Linked DNA regions of Homo sapiens: region 2 is linked to region 1. The links are contacts of gene promoters, found by promoter capture Hi-C in human tissues and cell types (Jung and others, 2019). All regions are on one chromosome and are shown on one strand. The core of a region is centred on a gene start or on the middle of the fragment in contact, and the rest is flanking DNA. Distances in the headings are between cores, read along the strand shown. Region 1 holds the start of SPATA7 (spermatogenesis associated 7). Region 2 holds the start of PTPN21 (protein tyrosine phosphatase non-receptor type 21).

Region 1 (3,496 bases), core at 567-3,066:
AGAGAGCAGATTGTAAAATTTGTCTTGTCGGACCTAAAAGGGTGCCTGGCTCTTAGTTGGTTATCTCCTGGATTTGGAAAGGAAAGAAGGAAAACAAAGGGGAAAAGAGATTCTCTATAGAATGTGGTTTTTTCCCACAAGAGATTTTGCAGGGCAATTTCAAGATATGGCAAGGAAATATATCTTGGGGTTAAATATTTTGATTTTTTTTTCCTTGTCTCATAATATTATGCCAGAATCAGATTGGAAAGTAAGTCATGGTATATAGAGTCAAATAAAACCCATCTGATAAGAATTTATGGTTTCTAGGGCATGACTCCCTAGACACCTTAGATAGGAATTTGGGCAAGATAAAAAAATTAGAGCTTAGTCCTCAACTCTACAGAAGAAAATGACATTTACCCAGGAATGGGCATTGCAATAGGAATATGCGTGCCATGGCAAACTGTTTGCATATTCAAGGAATTAAAGGAAAAAAAAGTTTTTTTAAAAAATAAAAAAAGGAGAGGATTACATAATTGTTTTGAGGTAATTAGCCTTGGCTCCAAGCATCAATAACAAGGGTGATGTCAGTTCAAGGTTGGACAGACAATTGCTGGACAGATGTCCTCATAGAAGTATCTTTTTGGGTAAGGTGGAGGTCTTTGTGCAAGGTTGTGGTTTTCGCAGTATTTTGTGATAGTTTTATTATCAGGCATTCATGGATGAGAACTCTCCTTCATGGCCTTCTCCAGTTCCACTTGTCAGGTTTTCTAACACATGTGACTCTATTTTTGATTCTGACAACTTTCACAATCTACATTAGAAAAGAGAAAACTGGGGCTCAGAAAGTTTTAGAAACTAATTCAAGATCAAGCTGGTAAGTAGCAAAAAATTTAGAATTAAGTTCTACATATCTGGTTCCAAAACCAGGACTCTTTTCATTACAGCAGTGGTTCTCAACAGAGTTGCGATTTTGCCCCCCAGGGAATATTTCACAATGTCTGGAGACATTTATGACTGTCAGGATTGGAGGTGGAGTGGGTGGGGTCTGCTTCTGAGAAGCTACTTGCTTCTAGTAAACGGAGGACAGGGATGCTACAAAACAGTTCATAGGGACAGCACCCCCACAACAGAGAATTATACAACCAGCCCAAAATGTCAATGGACATTTGGGCTGAGAAGTCTTACATGACAGAATGCTTCCTACCCTGATCTGACGTTATTTCCAAGGATTCAAAGGTAACTGCTTCAAAATTAAACAAATTATAGAAAGCCATCAATAAATCAACCCCTTATTCATGTTGCAGCTCTCTTCCATTATAAATAAAAATGGATTGAAACTTACGATAAAAGGGAGGCAGGGACAGGAGCGGGGAAGCTTGGCGAGCAGAAAGGAAATTCAAACTTATTATTAAGGTTAAGAATTAAGATGTAAATATGTAGATGTTTTTCACCCCTAGGATTTTCACTAATCCAAAAGTTCACGGACTGCTTTGAAATTTAATTATTTGGAACTGGTTAAATGTTACCCTGACCTCAGCTAACATTTGTGTTTCACTTTTCTCCGGGACCCAGGGGACGTGGATGCCAGATGAGTCCACCTCCTCTCCCTGCTCTTCCCGCAGGGACAGAGCCTGCCAGGTGCTGGTGACTCGGATCCTGACAGGAGGTCGCTCTGCGGAAGACTGGCAGGATCCCAGAGCAACAGACTGGGGCTCGATGCCCCTTCCCCGCCAGGTCTCTCCGTCCGCAACTGTCCTCCTAGTACCGGGTATCCCGCAGGCGGGGCTGCGGAACGCACGTCCCCTGCGCCGTGACGTCACAATAGCGACTCACTGGACCCAGCCCTTAGCAACGGCCTGGCAACGGTTTCCCTGCTGCTGCAGCCCCCGTCGGCTCCTCTTTTCCAGTCCTCCACTGCCGGGGCTGGGCCCGGCCGCGGGAAGGACCGAAGGGGATACAGCGTGTCCCTGCGGCGGCTGCAAGAGGACTAAGCATGGATGGCAGCCGGAGAGGTAAAGGGCAGCTGTCAGGGGCTACCGCCGCCTCGCCCCTCGCTCCAGGCGGCGCTCCCAGCCTCGGGTCCGGGCAGCTGAGTGCAAGGCCGCCCCTTGGGGCGCTTCCTACCCCTGGCTGAGTCGCCAGTGTTGCCTGGAGCTGCCCAGGCCTGCGCAAAGGAAGAGGGAGAGCCTGCTTGCCAGCCTCGCAGGTCCGCTTCTTTGCCCTGAATTTGTCGCCCTGACACCAGGGGCCCCTGTCTCCTGAACTCAGGGTCGTGCAGCCTTTAAAACCTCAGTAGCTCCCAGGCAGAGGAACCAGGTTTGGTCTTTGGAGTCAGACCTCCCCGGGCCCCAAATCAAACCCCTCTGCTCTCCATGGAGACGACCCTCAGTTTTCTTATCTCTTGAACGTGAGGGTCAAATACCCAGGCCATGGAGTTCTTGAGGATTAAATGCAGATAATATAGAGAAGATCCTGGCGCATTTGAAGTGGTCAGTAAATACGAAATCTCCCAGTAACGAACTACCTCCCCCAAAGCTACTGAGTAACCCAGGGTTTCTGTAACTTTCTGTGAATAGGAATCCCCTCAGGGTCATGTTAAAATGCAGATTATGATTCAGTAGGTCCCTTGGGGGTGGCTGAGATTTTGCATTTATAATAAATTCCAAGTAATGCGGTGTTGCTGGTCAGCGGACTGCAGTTTTAGCAGCAATCCGTACTCACCATATACACCTGTTCTCTACTGATTTCTTGAGTCAGGTGGACATCATGTGGTGGGGTTGGGGGTGGGGAAATACAATCTTAAATATCTACAAATCGGCCCAAACCAAATAATTTGCATTTTCACACTTTCTGAGCCAGTATCATTCTTTCCTCGAGTCAAATGAGGCAATCTTTATAGACTCCCCGCCCCTCCCAATTCAGTGTTTTTATCTATTTAAAAGACTGCCTTTAAACCAAGCTGCTAGATGATTCCTTGATGTCTTTCTTTGAATGAGTCTGCCTTTATTATATAGTCATTGATCAAAATAAGTGCTACTCCGAATGTAGGAGATAACTATTCATTGATCAGCAAACTATTCTGACACTTCACCAACCTAGGTTTCAGAAAAAGCAAATCAAAACGCTTTATGATCTTAAGAAATTTTGCATATAAACTAACATTAAACCCTTGCTATGTACTAGGAACTATTTCCAAATTATCTCATTTAATGTACAAAAATACCTTGATAGGCATTAGCCTTATTTCATAGTGAAGAAACTAAAGCAAAAGATCACAAATAACTTGCCAAGATCACAGCGGCAGAACAGGATTTGAATCTAGGTGAAGAATATAAATCTGAAGCCAATGCATTTACTTACTATCCCATGGTAGGGATGGGCAGGGGGAAAGGATAAATGTAACATTTAGAGTATGGTAGATTTAGTAAGTTGTCAGTATTTGTTTATTGAATTATTTTAAAAATTGGGTTCATGCCAAATGTAAAAAGGTTTATATTTTTACAACTTGCAC
Region 2 (3,985 bases), core at 657-3,156, 170 kb after region 1:
CACTGTATAACTTAATTATTAACTTAAGCTCTGATTAAGCAAACTCAGTAAAACTTTCAATTGTCCCTCAGACTTGAAATGTATTACTGCATCAGGGATAAAGGAAAAGTCAAAATTATCTCTTATTTTGGTAGATGAAATTGAAAAAGTTGCAGTGTGTGTGTACATGGTGCATCCCCCCAAGATCTATCCATAAGAATGGCTTGCTTTTTGCTTATTTATATAAAACCCACTATGTTAAAACAATGATTTTGTTTAATAATTTACAAATTTATCAATGATTTATACATCTTAATTTTCAGTAATATGCAGTATTTGTTGCCAAATGGTGTAATACAATTATGAATGTCTGAAGATAATAAAACCAAGATGAGTAGAAATTTAAGAGTTCTTTGGGGAGGTCTGTTTCAGGTATAAAATAATATGCAATAATATGAAAGTGATTGGGTCTGGAATTATAATTTACTAAAGTAAACATAATTTATAAATAGCTATTAAAGGAAAACTAGGATATAATTTTTTCTCTACAAAATCTTTCCGTTTTGTGGTAAGTAAACAGATACATACTAGATTCTGCTTCAGTACAAGTTTACAAAAGGCAGTCTGAACTATTTGTGAATTCATTTTAATTTTCCCTCTCTACAACCCTTTCCAAAAGTTCCTCAAATACACTTTACCTCTCAATCTTACAGCGTTTCCCCTTTCCTATTAAGGTCCTTACCACATGTAATTTTGCCAAAGTTGCTTTAAAATAAAATAAGCACTAAAAGGAGAGAGTATGTGACATTTTTAGAGTAATATCTATAGCTATAGCATTAAACCCATGTTTCTCACGGAGAAAACATCTGTGCGTAGATGCTCCAGAATAAAATGCCCTAGAAACGAAACGGACTATATTCAGAGTAAAATTACTGTCGTGTCCCAAACTTAAAAAAATAAATAAACTGTCAGCAACTATTAGGCATACAGCAGTTGTCACTTGGAGCACACGAATGTTCTGAATGTGTTTGTGAGCATACGCTATTAGTATAAGGCTTTCTCAGCAAAAAAGAAAATAGGACGAGCATGCCAAGAGCGGCCAATCTAATCAGGATTTGCAGAAATCACAAGTCGGAATTTGCAGATCCAAGAATTCTTGTTTCCAGAGTAAATACTCTACTCCAAAAACAAACCCAGGCGTTACCAAACAGTCCTTCCCTGCGCCCCTTCTCGCCAAAGTTATCTGGCGAATTTCACGTTTATATATTCTGAGAGGCACAAATATGCCTAACACATTTAAAACCCTGATCCAGAATTAACCCGCAACAATCGGCCAGGGCGTTCGGAATAGAAGTTCAAGACTCCTTTTAGAAATTACTCAAGTATATGAGAGCGAACCTGAAAAACAAGACTTTTCTCTTTGTTACGCTCCCGCTACGGGTCTGGCCGCCGCGCCCCATTCTCCGGGATTCCGGGGCCGCGGGCGCGCTCCGGGGTCCGGGCGAGTGGACACACCCCACCGCTCGGGCCAGCCGCCCGCCCCTCCCGCCGGCCGGGGACCGCGCCCTCACCTGCTCCCGCTCCCGCTCCCGCATCCTCGGGGCCGCGCGCCCCGCTCAGCGACCCGCCTCCCGGGGCCCCGCCGCGCGGCCGCCGCAGCCGCACCCGCACGCCAGCCCGGGCCGCGGCGCGCTCATGGGGCTCGCACGCCTCACTTCCTGTCTCCAAAAACCCGGCTCGCAGACCATTCCCCTGGGCAGAGTCCGGCGGTGGCGACGGCGAGGGGCGAGGCCTGGAGGTGGGACCGGCCGGCGAGGAGCGCCGCACAAAGAAGCCCCGTGGGGGCGGGGGGTGGCAGGAGGACGGACAGACCGTCGGACCGACGCGGGACGCGCGGCCGGAGCAGCGGGGCGGCCGGGCCCAGGCGTCCCTCCCCCTGAGCCGGGCGGGCGGATCCGGGGAGGCGGCGGCGGCCCGTGACCTCAGAGAGTTGGAATGCGGGCAGCCGCGCGGGGGAGGCGCGGACAGCTGCGCCCGGCCGCCGGGGAGGGGGCGCGCCGCTGCTTTTTTTAATCGTATGACCACTTATTTTAAGAGTTTCCAAATAAAGCAAGGCTTTTAATAAAATGAGTGGAGGGGGTATTATTTAGGTTCCAGATAAAGGGTTTTATTCCTGTGTTATTAGGTAGGCTGTAAAATGCTGTTATTGATGGTTATTCGTTTACTCTGGTATATTTCTGAACACTATTGGAATACATTTCTTCTTTTCCTGCTTGCTCCTAAGGTTATGCCCCATATAACTAGACACTTCCAGTACTGGGTGGGAAAGCCCCCCCACCAAAAATGGTTCATATGCCTCAAATAACCTGTCAGTCCCCAAAAGGGAGCTGTCTGCTTATGCAATATAGAGCAGAACTGTTAAGGATGGAGACTTGACAAAGTTGTCAAATCCCAGCTCCAACATTTACTAGCTGGATGACCTTGTGCAAGTTTCTTAACTTCTCTTTACCTGTTTCCTCTCCTATAAAAGAGGGATATTAATATCTTTGCACAGCAGGGGTGGGGGAAATAAATACTAAGCAATATCCAATAACTTGTGTAAAGTATATATGAAGTGTTTCGTTTAAGGTTTATTATACAGTATTCTTGTACTGCATTATTACTGTATTGCAGCACTTAAGCTGAGGAATAAAACTGTGTGACCCTACCACTATTACAATAGTGTAAGATCTTTTCTTGGCATGTGGAACACAGAACCTTTTAATTTATGTAAATTTTAATTTCAGTGATTTTGTTTTAATGCTGTTGTTTCTGGAAAGCTTTTTAAAGTATTGTTTCATGTAAATCTCATTTTCTTAAACAATTAACAAAAACTTTTGAATACTTAACTCTGCATGAGACGTGGTCCCTGCACAACACGGACTTTTGGTTTAGTGGGTGATAAACGCACCTGCACACCACACACGCAGTACAAGGCCAAAGTGGGGAGCATTGTCATAGAGGTATGAGTGCTATCCAAGAGCAAAGCCCAGCAAGGTGCATCTTGGGTCGTTTAGCTAAAGGCAAATAAGATTACCTGTGTTTCTAAGGGAAAAAAAATAGATCAATTCTGTTTGTAATTGATATTTCAACTGAACTCTATGAGGGGGTCAATTTGTGTGTGAGCAAAGAAAAGAGATCTAAAAAGAAGTCACTTTGCTGGCTTCCCAAGGTAGAAAAACTGGAATCATGTGTGACTTCTCCCATTATCATCTCCAGCCTGTCATCAAGACCTGGTATTTCCTCCTTTGAAATGTCTCATGAATTCTTTGTTTCCTTTCTGTTCCCCCTGGAACATTCTAAATCCAAACCCTCATCATTTTACATCCGGATTATTGCAACAAGGGTGGTCTCCTGGCATCTGGTTTCTCAGTTCTCTCTTATTTCCTTGCTAATACCAGGCTTCCTTCTCTTATCACTCTTAATGGACTCCCAAGGTTAAGTTCTTCTGCCTGACCTATAGGGACTTTCCAAACGGGCCTCTCTGACCACCTATATCGCTTTCTGCCCCTGTCAAGCTTTGCCCCTGGCCAGCAGCCCCTCCTGCCCTCTTTCCACTTGTCTAAGCCTTCTGCTTCTCTGCAAGTAAGACTCTGCTTCCAGGATGACTTTCTAGCCACACCATTCCACAGTGATCTCCACACTTGGCAAGAACTGTAAAAGTTGTTTCATGACGGCTTCTTTTATATCTCCTAGGATTCCTAGGACAGTACTGGGCAAAGAGTAGGCACTAAATAAAAACTTGTTAATTGAATCAGGAAGAAAATAAAAGAATTTTAAAAATAGAAAATGACCATAAAACCCAAGAGATGTTAGACAACTGAGTTGAACTTCCTCCCTCACAGTCCACAGATGTCATTTACTGACCAAGTACCTAAGCCCTATTTTCCCTCAGCTATGTTAATTTGGCAGGAACATTCATGGGAAGGCACTTGAATAACACCTTCAAAATATTAGACATAAAATT

Evidence for each region. Contacts are between HindIII fragments. The study calls those that stand out against the background at their distance.
Region 2: a contact is called between the fragment with the promoter of PTPN21 here and the fragment with the promoter of SPATA7 in region 1, in 1 of the 25 tissues and cell types used here (hippocampus).

The regions. Positions count from the first base shown.
Region 1 is chr14:88,383,841-88,387,336 of GRCh38, forward strand. It overlaps SPATA7 (spermatogenesis associated 7), which reads left to right and starts at 1,817. Exons shown (of 12, transcript NM_018418.5): 1 at 1,817-1,997. The coding sequence starts at 1,979. RefSeq lists enhancers at 1,500-1,579, 1,610-1,679, 1,690-2,009. The HindIII fragment of the contact is 14,884 bases long and covers 1-3,206 here.
Region 2 is chr14:88,553,101-88,557,085 of GRCh38, forward strand. It overlaps PTPN21 (protein tyrosine phosphatase non-receptor type 21), which reads right to left and starts at 1,907. Exons shown (of 19, transcript NM_007039.4): 1 at 1,551-1,907. It overlaps LOC124903405 (proline-rich protein 2-like), which reads right to left and starts at 3,690. Exons shown (of 2, transcript XM_047432047.1): 1 at 3,663-3,690; 2 at 1,557-1,960. The coding sequence starts at 3,690. The coding sequence ends at 1,596. RefSeq lists a silencer at 1,865-1,914. The HindIII fragment of the contact is 8,452 bases long and covers 1-3,167 here.